Linked DNA regions of Homo sapiens: all the other regions are linked to region 2. Evidence: promoter capture Hi-C in 16 types of primary human blood cells and fetal thymus (Javierre and others, 2016). All regions are on one chromosome and are shown on one strand. Each heading gives the region's core, a stretch centred on a gene start or on the middle of the fragment in contact. The rest is flanking DNA. Distances are from core to core; before and after follow the strand shown. Region 1 holds the start of SDC4 (syndecan 4). Region 2 has its middle 19 kb from the start of WFDC3. Region 3 holds the start of RBPJL (recombination signal binding protein for immunoglobulin kappa J region like). Region 4 holds the start of PIGT (phosphatidylinositol glycan anchor biosynthesis class T).

Region 1 (2,700 bases), core at 192-2,691, 420 kb before region 2:
TTAACCTCTCTAGCCTCAGGACCAGTTTAAGAACAGTACACAGTAAGATTGTTGTTGGAATTAAGCTCCTGGATATACCCATTAGAAAGTTATTAGAGCAATGTCTGGCCCCCCGACAAAGGCGCTCCACGTTTGCAATCATCATGGCATGCCTGGAATTGTGCTGGAAGTATTGCCTAGGGTCTCATTCATTCCTCAAGAAGAGCCTGCAGGCAGAATCAACCTTCCGCTAAGTAAATTCAGAGGAACAGGAGCCCCAAGGCTTTCAAAGAAATTAACATTAATGGTTAAACTGCAAGGACTCACTCGCTCTGAAAACTGGGGCTAAAGGGCACAAAGGGGGCACAAAGCTCAGGCTGTGGGGGACAGATTGCCTTCACCAGTAATTCCCATGCCCCCCAACTTCCCAGATGAGATTGCCCCCCTCCTCCTAAGCCGGCTGCGGGCATGGATAGAGCTTCTGCTGGCCCAGGGACAGCTATGACGGAGGCCAGTGGACAGTGAGAAGGAAAGGTTTCCCTGGGCTGATTGAGGCCTTCTCTCCCCCCTACCCCCTTCACCTCACTCAAGGTGGATGCTTCAATTTTCTTATCTGCAATTGAGAAAAAATGAACACACTTCTTGCAGAAAGCAGAGGCTCAGCTCCTGGCTAAGTGTTGAGTCTAAACCATTCCTCTCCTCTGTCCTCGAAAAGAGCAGAGTCCCCAACTTTCTAGAAACCCTAACGCAGTGTCCCCTCTTGCCCCATTCCCTCAGACCCTTGGTGCAGTATTGGGAAGAGATTCAGAAGGGCAGGACTTTGCCCTAAGTCACAAGTCAATGACAGAGCTGGGGCCAGAACTGAGGTTAGGGCTCAGTTCTCCTTGGTGTGTGAAAGAGGGCCTCGCACAACCCTAAAACCCTCCCCCTTCCGAGTACACGCAGCCCCCCGACCCCCAGGGCCATCTCGGATCCTAAAGCTGTCTGCTCTGGGCGCCCCGAGAGCGAGGAGGGGATTCAGCGCTCCAAGCCTGCCCCAGGGTCACCAGGGAAGGGACGAGGGTGTGGGAGTTGAAGAGTTGACACCGGCTTAGTCACTAACGAGCCCGTAGCCCGCGGCGGGGCTGAGGCCCGGGGAGGCGGGAAGAGCAACAGGCGAGGGGCGCACGGCGCGTGAAGCCATCCCGGAGGCTGGCCCGTGACCCCGGAGCAAAGTTTCCAACAAAGTTTCCCGGGCCTCGGTGTCCGGTTGGGGGTAGCGTACCCCCGATCTGCCCCCCCCCATCCCACGCTCCGACGAACAAAGGAGGCACCGGCCTGCGCCCCCGCTTCGCCCCCAGCCCGGGAACCTCCAAGCACCCACCGACTCGGCGACTCCGCCTACGAAGAACAGCAGCAGCGCGAACAGACGGGCGGGGGCCATGGCACCGCGGACTGGAGAAGGCGCGCAGGCTGCGGCGAGTGGCCCCGGGCGGGCGCGCCACCCATCTTATAGGCGGCCTACCGGCCCCGCCCCGGCCCGCCCCCGCCCCGCCGCCCGCACCCCGCCCGGAATTCCCCAGTGGAAGCGAGGCCTGCGGGGCACTGCGCCCGCCCGCGGAGTTGGAAACCCCAAGGGACCCGCCCTGCCCGAGCCCGCCGGCTCCTACTCAACCCCTAGTCCTACCCTCCGGGAGCTCCAACTCCCTTTATTTATTTGACCCACTGCCAGGCAGGTCCCCAGAGATCACTGCGGCTAACCCCATTTTATAGTTGGGGAAACTAAGGCCCAGGGACGGGAAGGACTTCCCTAGGGTGTTGAGTTTAGACCAGCCTTCATACCGGGTGTGCTCCCCTCTGAAGACACAGAACTTCCCAAATGGGATGTGAACCGTGTTAAGACAGGGGACAGCAAACTATTCTGTAAAGGGCTAAATATTTTAGGTTTTGCGGGCCATACGATCCCTGTGGCAACTATTCAAACTCGAGCGTCGTAGCTCAAAAGCAGCCATAAATACTAAAGGAATGAGGGCAGCTAGGTCCTAATAAAACATTATTTATAGACACCGACATTTGAATTTAATATAATTTTCATGTGTCACGAAATATTATTATTCTTTTGACTTTATTCCCAACCATTTAAACATGCAAAAATCGGCTGGGCTCTATGGCTCACGCCTGTAATCCCAGCACTTTGGGAGGCCGAGGAATAGGAGGATCCCTTGAGCCCAGGAATTGGAGACCAGCCTGGGCAACCATAATGAGACCCCCATCTCTACAAAAAGTTTTTAAAGAAATTAACCAGGCATTGTGGTGCACCCCTGTGGCCCAGCTACTCTGGAGGCTGAGGTGGGAGGACTGCTTGAGCCAGAGAGGTGAAAGTTGCAGTGAGCCATGATCGCTCACTGCACTCCAGCCTGGGTGACCGAGTGAGACCCTGTCTCAAAAATAAATAAATAAATAAATAAATAAATAAATAAATAAATAAATGACATTTTATAATAAAAATGCAGGCCGGATGCAGTGAGTCATGCCTGTAATCCCAGCACTTTGGGAGGCTGAGGCGGCGGATCACTTGAGCTCAGGAGTTTGAGACCAGCCTGGCCAACATGCTGAAACCCCGTCTCTACAAAATACAAAAATTATCCAGGCATGGTTGCCTGCGCCTGTAATCCCAACTGCTCTGGAGGCTGAGGCAGGAGAATCGTTTGAACCCGAGGGGCGGAGGTTGCAGTGAACTGA
Region 2 (2,700 bases), core at 97-2,596:
ATGAAAGGAAAGACACCTCTCCCAACTCAAGAGCAACCCACTGCCAGGATACGCTCTGGGCCTCCTGCCTTCCTCACCCCACTTACACGCCTTACCAATAACATCATGCCCCCACGGGAGCAGTGGAGGCTGCAGGGGCCCATGGTATTGCTGGGGCCAAGGGCACATATGGAGTCTGAGATTTCTACAACCAGATGGTCAAGAAGCAGGGTGGAGAAGGGAGGAGCTGCGTGGTTCTGGTCAAAGAACAAGTCTTTCTCAGCCTACACTGGAGCCCCAGACATTCCTGCCCACGATGAGGAAGCTGAGGAGCAGGGCGGGGGAGAAGGGTGGCTTTTCAACCTGGTCAGAGGCTAATTTCGGGGTGCAAGGTGAGAGAGTAGGATCACGGTCCACTGAGACCTGCTCCTGGGTCATTTCCACCCCAGGACCAAGGCTGAAATGGACTTAAACCCTGAGGAAGGAAAGGTTCTAATGGCTTCTTTAGTTCAGGGTCCAACAGTAGAGAAAGCTGCCCAGAAAGACCTGGGGGTGGGAATTTGGCCCCAGCTCAGCCTTTAACCGCCAGCTTTCAAATTTAACCCTTCAGCACTCTCTCTCATCTCTATCTCTCTCTCATCTCCATCTCTATCTCTCTATACATCTATCTATCTCTCTATCTCTCTCGACGTTGCTACCTGTAAGCAGGTCAGCAGCTCCCTCTGGAAAGGGTGAGCCTCCAGACGAGGAGGAAAGGTCTGCAAGGAGCAGCTCTCCCATTGCTCAGCCTGAGCTGTGCCTGGGGCTCACACCTGTCTCTCCAGTCCCACTCTCCACCCTGACAGAACATCATTCTGCAATATGAGAGGATTCCCAGACTGTTGTTTTTCATTGAAAGTTCTACCATACTGATGATTTTTTTTTTTTTTTTTTTTTTTGAGATGGAGTTTCGCTCTTGTCGCCCGGGCTGGAGTGCAATGGCAGGATCTCGGCTCACTTGGAACTTCCACCTCCCAGGTTCAAGCAATTCTCCTGCCTCAGCCTCCTGAGTAGCTGGGATTACAGGCGTGCACCACCAAGCCTGGCTAATTTTTGTATTTTTAGTAGAGACGGGGTTTCACCATGTTGGTCAGGCTGGTCTTGAACTCCTGACCTCAAGTGATCTGCCTGCCTTGGCCTCCGAAAATGTTGGGATTACAGGCGTGAGCCACTGCACCCGACCACTGCTGAGTGTCTGTGCCTTCTCCCCCTTGTTTTCATCCTGGCATGTGAAATTCTGGTTTCTACCTGGTTCAGAACATTTATCTCTTTTCAGTACAGTAGACATGTCAATGTTGCCTGATCTGAAAAAGAGTGGCTGGCATGAACCTCGCAGTGGCCAACCCAGAAACATCCATGACTCCAGGATCATGTTGCAGGGAACTGGGAAGGGCCAGTGTCTGTGTGATGGGCTGCTGAACATTTTGGCAGATCCCTCTTCCACTGTTTTATCATTTTGTTGTTTATTTAAAAACTCGAATACATGCACATAGTTTTTTTAAAAATCATTATATCATCACACCACCACACCCGGCTAATTTTTGTATTTTTAGTAGAGACAGGGTTTCTACTAAAACAGTCAAAGGCACAGCTACTCAGAAGGCTGAGGTAAGAGAATTGCTTGAGCCCAGGAGGCGGAGGTTGCAGTGAGCGGAGATCGTGCCACTGCACTCCAGCCTAGGCGACAGAGCAAGATTTCGTCTCAAAAAAAAAAAAAGATAACTAGTTAAATAAATTACCCATTTCATAGAGTTCTATTAAAAGAATATACGTGATGACATGAAAGATCTCCAAGATACACAATATAATCCATTTCATATAAATAAAAAACATAACTTTAAAAAATTATCTTGGTCCCAAGAACCTAGGGATATCCCCTCCCTAAAATAAAGCTACCTGGAGGGGACAAACTGCCTGTCTTGGAGCCAAGGGCTGGCCCTCAAGGAAGGAGGTCCAAGGTGGGAACATTCCAACATCTATAAGAAACTAGCCACTCGGCTGGGCACAGTGGCTGACGCCTGTAATCCCAGCACTTTGGGAGGCCAAGGCAGGCAGATCACCTGAGGTCAGGAGTTCAAGATAAGCCTGGCCATCATGGTGAAACCCCGTCTCTACTAAAAATACAAAAATTAGTCAGGCATGGTAGCGCGCCTGTAGTCCCAGCTACTCGGGAGACTGAGGCAGGAGAATCACTTGAACCTGAGAGGCAGAGGTTGCAGTGAGCCAAGATTGCGCCACTGCACTCCAGCCTGGGCAACAGAGTGAGACTACATCTCAAAAAAAAAAAAAAACTAGCCACTCACCCTTGTTCCACCCTCAACCCACATTCTCCAATAAAAGAAAGAAGGTCAGCAGGTCTAAAAGAGACTGACCTCCACCCCCACCAGGGCTTGAGAAAGACATCTATGGCAAGTCACTCTCAGTTTAGTTTCCACCCTCAACCCACATTCTCCAATAAAAGAAAGAAGGTCAGCAGGTCTAAAAGAGACTGACCTCCACCCCCACCAGGGCTTGAGAAAGACATCTATGGCAAGTCACTCTCAGTTTAGTTTCCACCCATCTCTTCCCTAGCCACACCCAACCAAAACCCATTTTCAGTGTCCTCACAAAGAATGGATTACCCATCTGTCCTAAATATGTAAATCGTACAATCCCACAGGCACACACATACCCTCTAGCTCT
Region 3 (2,700 bases), core at 59-2,558, 470 kb before region 2:
CCAGGGCTGAAGAAGGAGCAGCAACACGGGCCAGCAAAGAAGGCCTCTCATGGCGCTTGGGGACAGAGAATGGAGGTGTCAGAGCCTGGAGGGAGGAAGGAAAATAGAAAAGCAACAGTATTTACAGAGCTCTTATTCTGGGTGATAGGCACTTGGAGGGGGAAGACAGTTACAGGTTTATTTTACTAATCTCTCTATTTTTGTGTATGTTTGAAATGTTTCAGAATTAAAAAATTCTCATCACAGTGGGATTGCTGGGAAACACAAGAGATTCTTTTTTTTTTTTTTTTTAGATAGAGTCTTGCTCTGTCGTCCCGGCTGGAGTGCAGTGGCATGATCTCGGCTCACTGCAACCTCTGCCTCCCAGGTTCAAGCGATTCTCCGGCCTCAGCCTCCCGAGTAGCTGGGATTACAGGCTCCTGCCACCACACCTGGCTAATTTTTTGTATTTTTAGTAGAGAGCGGGTTTTGCCATGTTGGTCAGGCTGGTCTCAAACTCCTGACCTCAGGTGATCCTCCCACCTCGGCCTCCCAGAATGCTGGGATTACAGGCGTGAGCCACCGCGCTCGGCCCACAAGAGAATGGTAAATAAGAATAGATACATAGATACAAATATGCAAAATTTAAACAGAAAAAAACAGGTCTTCCTTAAATGTCAGGCACAGTGTTAAATGCTCTTCACGCATTGTGGCATTTAATCCTCTCTGCAATTGTAAGACTAAGGCTGTGATTGTCCCCCATCATACAGACAATGAAATTGAGGCTCAGAAAAGTTAAGCGCTGGTACCCAAAGTCATTCGGCCAAAAAGTGGCTGCGGCAGGATACAATCCCACGCCTGCTAGTTTCTGTGAGCCAGCCTGGGCGTTTGGTGCCTCTCCTCCTGCCAGGCGAACCTCTGCAGACAGAAGCCCTTCCCCACCTCGGCCCACTCCCCTACGCACACAGGCTTCTGTGTGGCTGTCTTTGCAACTCGCCAACCCCCCCAGACCCCTCCACACACACAAACACAGACATGCACTGCCCAACCGCAGGCGGCAGGGAGGGGCTGCGCCCTGTTGCGGGGCTGAGCGTGGTGGCGTGGCAGCGAGTGGACCAAAACCCACTGCGCACGAGAACGCGCGGCTTGGCGCCTGTTTCCCGCCTGCTCTCAGGAGCGACCGCCAGGGGGCGCCCGAGATGGCAGGGGGCGTGGGAAGCCCACATCTGCCCAGCAGGTGCGCCCACCCCGAGCAAACAGGGGGCCGGGGCCCGGGGCCTTGGAGATAAGGCCTGGACAGGATATAACCCGCGCAAGAGCCGAGGAGCAGGGGTGTGCAGGGTTCCAGCGACAGCAGCACTGGACTCGTCCAGAGGGCGGCGGGTGAGCGGCTGGGGCCCCGTGGAGCCACCATGGACCCCGCAGGGGCAGCAGGTGAGCGCTTACCCTCCCGAGGCCCCGGAGACGCCCCGTGAGAACTACGAAGGACCACCCCCCCACCCCCTCCCCACTATACAAATAGGAAAACTAAGCCCCAAGGAGGCAGCCCGCCGAACTGCAAAAGCAGGATTAGAACCTAGGGCTCCTGGTTCCCCTTCTCTCTCTTGAGGCCCCCTGGCGCCTAGAATTCACTAAACCTCATTTCCTTCCAGCTCCTACCCCACCGCCGCGCCCCATGCTGAAGCTGTGTTAGCCATTTTTCTGTTGCTGTTTCTTGGCAGAGAGGGCCAGCTGCCCCTAACCCAACAGCAGCTCCGCCCCCGCCCCCCAATTCCGTGAATGCGCCTATTCTGAGCGAGGCCAGTGCCTGCTTCTCACTCCAGGCGACCTTCTCATCCCGGATTCTTCTCCCTTTTCCCCTCCCAGGCCTGGTAGAAGAACATAAATCCTCTGGCAGGGCCCGTCGTGGGAGGGTGACCAAGCAAGATGTGGCAGCGCTGGTGGAAGTGGGAGGGCGGGGAACCCTTGTCAAGCTTGGGCCACAGGCAAAGCCAACATCCCTGGACAGCATGAGGGCTAAGGCACAAGGGGCCTCTGCCACCTCCCATACTTTCCTACCCGGAGATGCCTCTGGGCCCCTAAATCTTGGTTAAGGTTCCCCTCATCCCATTCTTGGTCTGAGCCAACTTCTCACCTGGCACCCTGCCTCCACCCCAGGAATCCTAGAAAGTCAAAATAGCAAATGCCTCAAAGTTCATCACCTTTCCAAACCCCTCATTCTACAAAGAAAGGAACTAGGTCCAGAGAGGGTAGTGTCTTGCTGAAGGGTACATGGCGATGTCGTGGCAGGACTGATACTAGAACCTGGGATTCCTCTGAGGAGTTAATCCTTGCATTAAAAAAAGAAAGATTCAGAGATGCCCTGAGGTGAGGTTGAGGGAGTGGAGCAGCAAGGGAGGAGAGGCCTGTAAATAAATTCTCAAAAGTCCCTTAGGGACATTTCAGGGGGTTCCTGGAGGGATGAGAGTAGAAAAGGGATGATCCTATTTTGATGGCTTTGAGGGTGGGGGCTCGATTTGGAAAGGACCCTGCAGAAGTGGGGAAGGGCACTGCAAATCAGATAGGGCACCCTAGGCAGCGTCTCTGCTAAAATACACTCGCCTGACCTGGCTTGATGCCTACTCCCCTGCAGACCCCTCAGTGCCTCCCAATCCTTTGACTCACCTGAGCCTGCAGGACAGATCAGAGATGCAGCTGCAGAGCGAAGCCGACAGGCGGAGC
Region 4 (2,700 bases), core at 139-2,638, 360 kb before region 2:
AATTAAAACCACAATGAGCAAACACTACATACATACCCAAGTGGTCAAAACTAAAAAGTACAAAAAATTAGAAACTTCAAATGCTGACCAGGATGTGGTACAATGGAGACTCATAGTTTATGGAAACATAAAATGATACATTTTGGAGAAAGGTCTGACAGTTTCTTATAAAATTAAACATACACCTGCTCTCTGACCCAGCAATTCCACTCTTAAATACCTGGCCAAAGGATATGAGAAATATACGTCTACAAAGGAGCTTGCACAGACAGCAGCCTTGTTAATAATAACCAAAAACTTTAAAAGTGCCCATCAAGAGTTGAATGGATAAATTAATAATACTACGCAGTAATAAAAAGAATTGTGGATACATGCAAGAACATGGATGATTCTCAAAAACATTCTTCCCATGAGAAAAAAAAAAGCCTTACACAGTATACATACTATATGATTTCATTTATATTTAGTTCTGGAACAGATTAATCTATTGTGGGAAAAAATCAGGGTACTAACTGCCTCTGGAAGGTGATAGAGGAGCAGGGATTGACTAGGAAAGGGTATTGCTAATTTTCTGGGGTTTTAGGAATGTTCTGTATCATGATAGGAGTTCGGGTTACATAGGTGTGTGCATTTGTCAAAACTCAGTGAATGTGTACTTTGGATTTGTGCATTTCACTGTATGTGAATTTTACATCAAAATGCAATCGAATACTGAACTCTAGTTAATTATATGCATGCTTAACTACTTAAAGGAAAGTGTACTAATGTCTGCAATTTACTTTGAAGTGCACCAAAACACAAGATGGAATGATGGATGTATAGACAAATATGTGGTAAAGTACAAGTATAGTATAATGTAAATAGTAGAATCTAGGTGGTGGAAAATAGGTTTATTGTAACAGGTGCTCATTCTTTCAATTTTGTTTGAACATTTTCGTAATAAAAGAACCACTTATTTGGGGGTTTTGCAGCAAATGGAGACACTAGAAGCTAAGAGGGGCAGGAGGTTCCTCTTACTTTGGGAAATGCAAATTAAAACCACAATGGTTTTCCCAAAAGTAATTGATCTTTTTCAGTCAATGTTTCCTCAACTATCAAATGGGTAAAATGGCAGTGAAGGAGCTTCATATTATTAAGCATTTCCTGGTGGGTGGAATACGCCATGAACTAGGTGCGGCCTCAAGCTGGTTACTCGCCCTGCCTACTCCCTCTCGTGTCCTCCCAGTACCCCCTTAGACCCACCAGCTCTGAGGGAATCTTCGCGACCTGCGCAGGCGGTCGCTCTGATAACCGCATCCCGGTTTCCGGGACGACAGCGGAAGTCACTTCTCACACGCCTTTCTTATTGGATACCGGCTTTTCATGGGGCCGAGCGCCGCTGGGTAGGCGGAAGTAGCCGCAGGCATGGCGGCGGCTATGCCGCTTGCTCTGCTCGTCCTGTTGCTCCTGGGGCCCGGCGGCTGGTGCCTTGCAGAACCCCCACGCGACAGCCTGCGGGAGGAACTTGTCATCACCCCGCTGCCTTCCGGGGACGTAGCCGCCACATTCCAGTTCCGCACGCGCTGGGATTCGGAGCTTCAGCGGGAAGGAGGTGAGGGCGCGAGATCTGACCAGGGAAAGATTTCCGTAGTGCCTGCTGGCTGGCCGGCCGTGGGATGAAGGCAAACTTTGGGGGCGGGGCCTAATTCCTGGGTAGAGTTCGGGATCCTGGGTGTGGACCCCGACGAGGTGGGGATCGTCACTCACCTGCTCCCGTTTCCCCAGTGTCCCATTACAGGCTCTTTCCCAAAGCCCTGGGGCAGCTGATCTCCAAGTATTCTCTACGGGAGCTGCACCTGTCATTCACACAAGGCTTTTGGAGGACCCGATACTGGGGGCCACCCTTCCTGCAGGCCCCATCAGGTGCAGAGCTGTGGGTCTGGTTCCAAGACACTGTCACTGAGTGAGTGCACACCTTGGGCCCTGTTGCAGGCCATGGAGGGAATGTGGCTGGGAGAGTGTTGTCATCCTGCCACTGCTCTTGGGGACAGCACTTCCAGTAGGCAGCGATTCCATGGGGGTAGAGCTGGCATTGGAAGTAAGAAATGTTACCACAGATGAATAAACTTCCCAATCCTAAAACTTTCAGACCTGAGGTAGCACATGCATATCCCTGGAGAGGCAAATAGCAAACAATTAATGCTTATTTGGAGGTAAGGCAGTAGAAAACTGGCAACTGGATAACCTTTTAAAAGGCATTCATTAATATTTTTTAAATGATAATAAATACCACGAAAGCCAACCATAACATATCTGTGGGTTACAACTGGCCAACAGGATGCTACATCACAGTGTTAGAGGAACTGCTTTTGTTTGGGAGGGGGCAGGTCTAGTTACTGTGCCTACTACAAACCGCTATTTCCCAGTGGCTGCTGTGGCTATCCTGTTTAGAATAGAACCTTTCTGTGCAGTGGTTGCAAACAGGTCTACATGGGCCACACAGGTAAGGAATGAATAAAGGTATTTTTAAAATTGACAAACACAGGAATGAGAAATATATCTCATTTTCCTCTTAATCCCACTATAAGAAATCAATAGTGCAAGTATGATATAACAAGTTTTAGGGCAATAAAAAGGAGCAGCAGGAATTGTGGCAGGCTAGAGAGTTTGTGTGACATTCTAACGAGGACAGCTCTGCCACTCAGCTTCTATGGATTGTTG

The links. Contacts are between HindIII fragments. The CHiCAGO score rates a contact against its expected background, and 5 or more counts as called.
Region 1: a contact is called between the fragment with the promoter of SDC4 here and a fragment that was not itself captured in region 2, in 12 of 17 cell types (M0 macrophages, total CD8 T cells, naive CD8 T cells and 9 more). The highest score is 7.4, in M0 macrophages.
Region 3: a contact is called between the fragment with the promoter of RBPJL here and a fragment that was not itself captured in region 2, in 17 of 17 cell types (naive CD4 T cells, total B cells, total CD8 T cells and 14 more). The highest score is 23.1, in naive CD4 T cells.
Region 4: the fragment with the promoter of PIGT here is called in contact with a fragment that was not itself captured in region 2 in 13 of 17 cell types (M2 macrophages, endothelial precursors, M1 macrophages and 10 more); the score reaches 14.1 in M2 macrophages.

Annotation. Positions count from the first base shown.
Region 1 is chr20:45,346,983-45,349,682 of GRCh38, forward strand. SDC4 (syndecan 4) reads right to left here and starts at 1,442. Exons shown (of 5, transcript NM_002999.4): 1 at 1,343-1,442. The coding sequence starts at 1,402. The HindIII fragment of the contact is 6,082 bases long and covers 1-2,700 here.
Region 2 is chr20:45,771,474-45,774,173 of GRCh38, forward strand. No RefSeq gene overlaps it. Among named protein-coding and RNA genes, the nearest start is that of WFDC3, 19 kb to the right of the region's middle. RefSeq lists enhancers at 1-187, 188-780. The HindIII fragment of the contact is 3,130 bases long and covers 1-2,700 here.
Region 3 is chr20:45,305,532-45,308,231 of GRCh38, forward strand. RBPJL (recombination signal binding protein for immunoglobulin kappa J region like) reads left to right here and starts at 1,309. Exons shown (of 12, transcript NM_014276.4): 1 at 1,309-1,413; 2 at 2,612-2,700. The coding sequence starts at 1,392. MATN4 (matrilin 4) reads right to left here. Exons shown (of 10, transcript NM_001393530.1): 1 at 2,644-2,700; 2 at 1-85. The coding sequence starts at 51. The HindIII fragment of the contact is 8,457 bases long and covers 1-1,950 here.
Region 4 is chr20:45,414,753-45,417,452 of GRCh38, forward strand. It overlaps PIGT (phosphatidylinositol glycan anchor biosynthesis class T), which reads left to right and starts at 1,389. Exons shown (of 12, transcript NM_015937.6): 1 at 1,389-1,591; 2 at 1,765-1,942. The coding sequence starts at 1,405. It overlaps LOC107985405 (a long non-coding RNA gene), which reads right to left. Exons shown (of 2, transcript XR_001754640.2): 2 at 1-2,065. The HindIII fragment of the contact is 8,427 bases long and covers 1-2,700 here.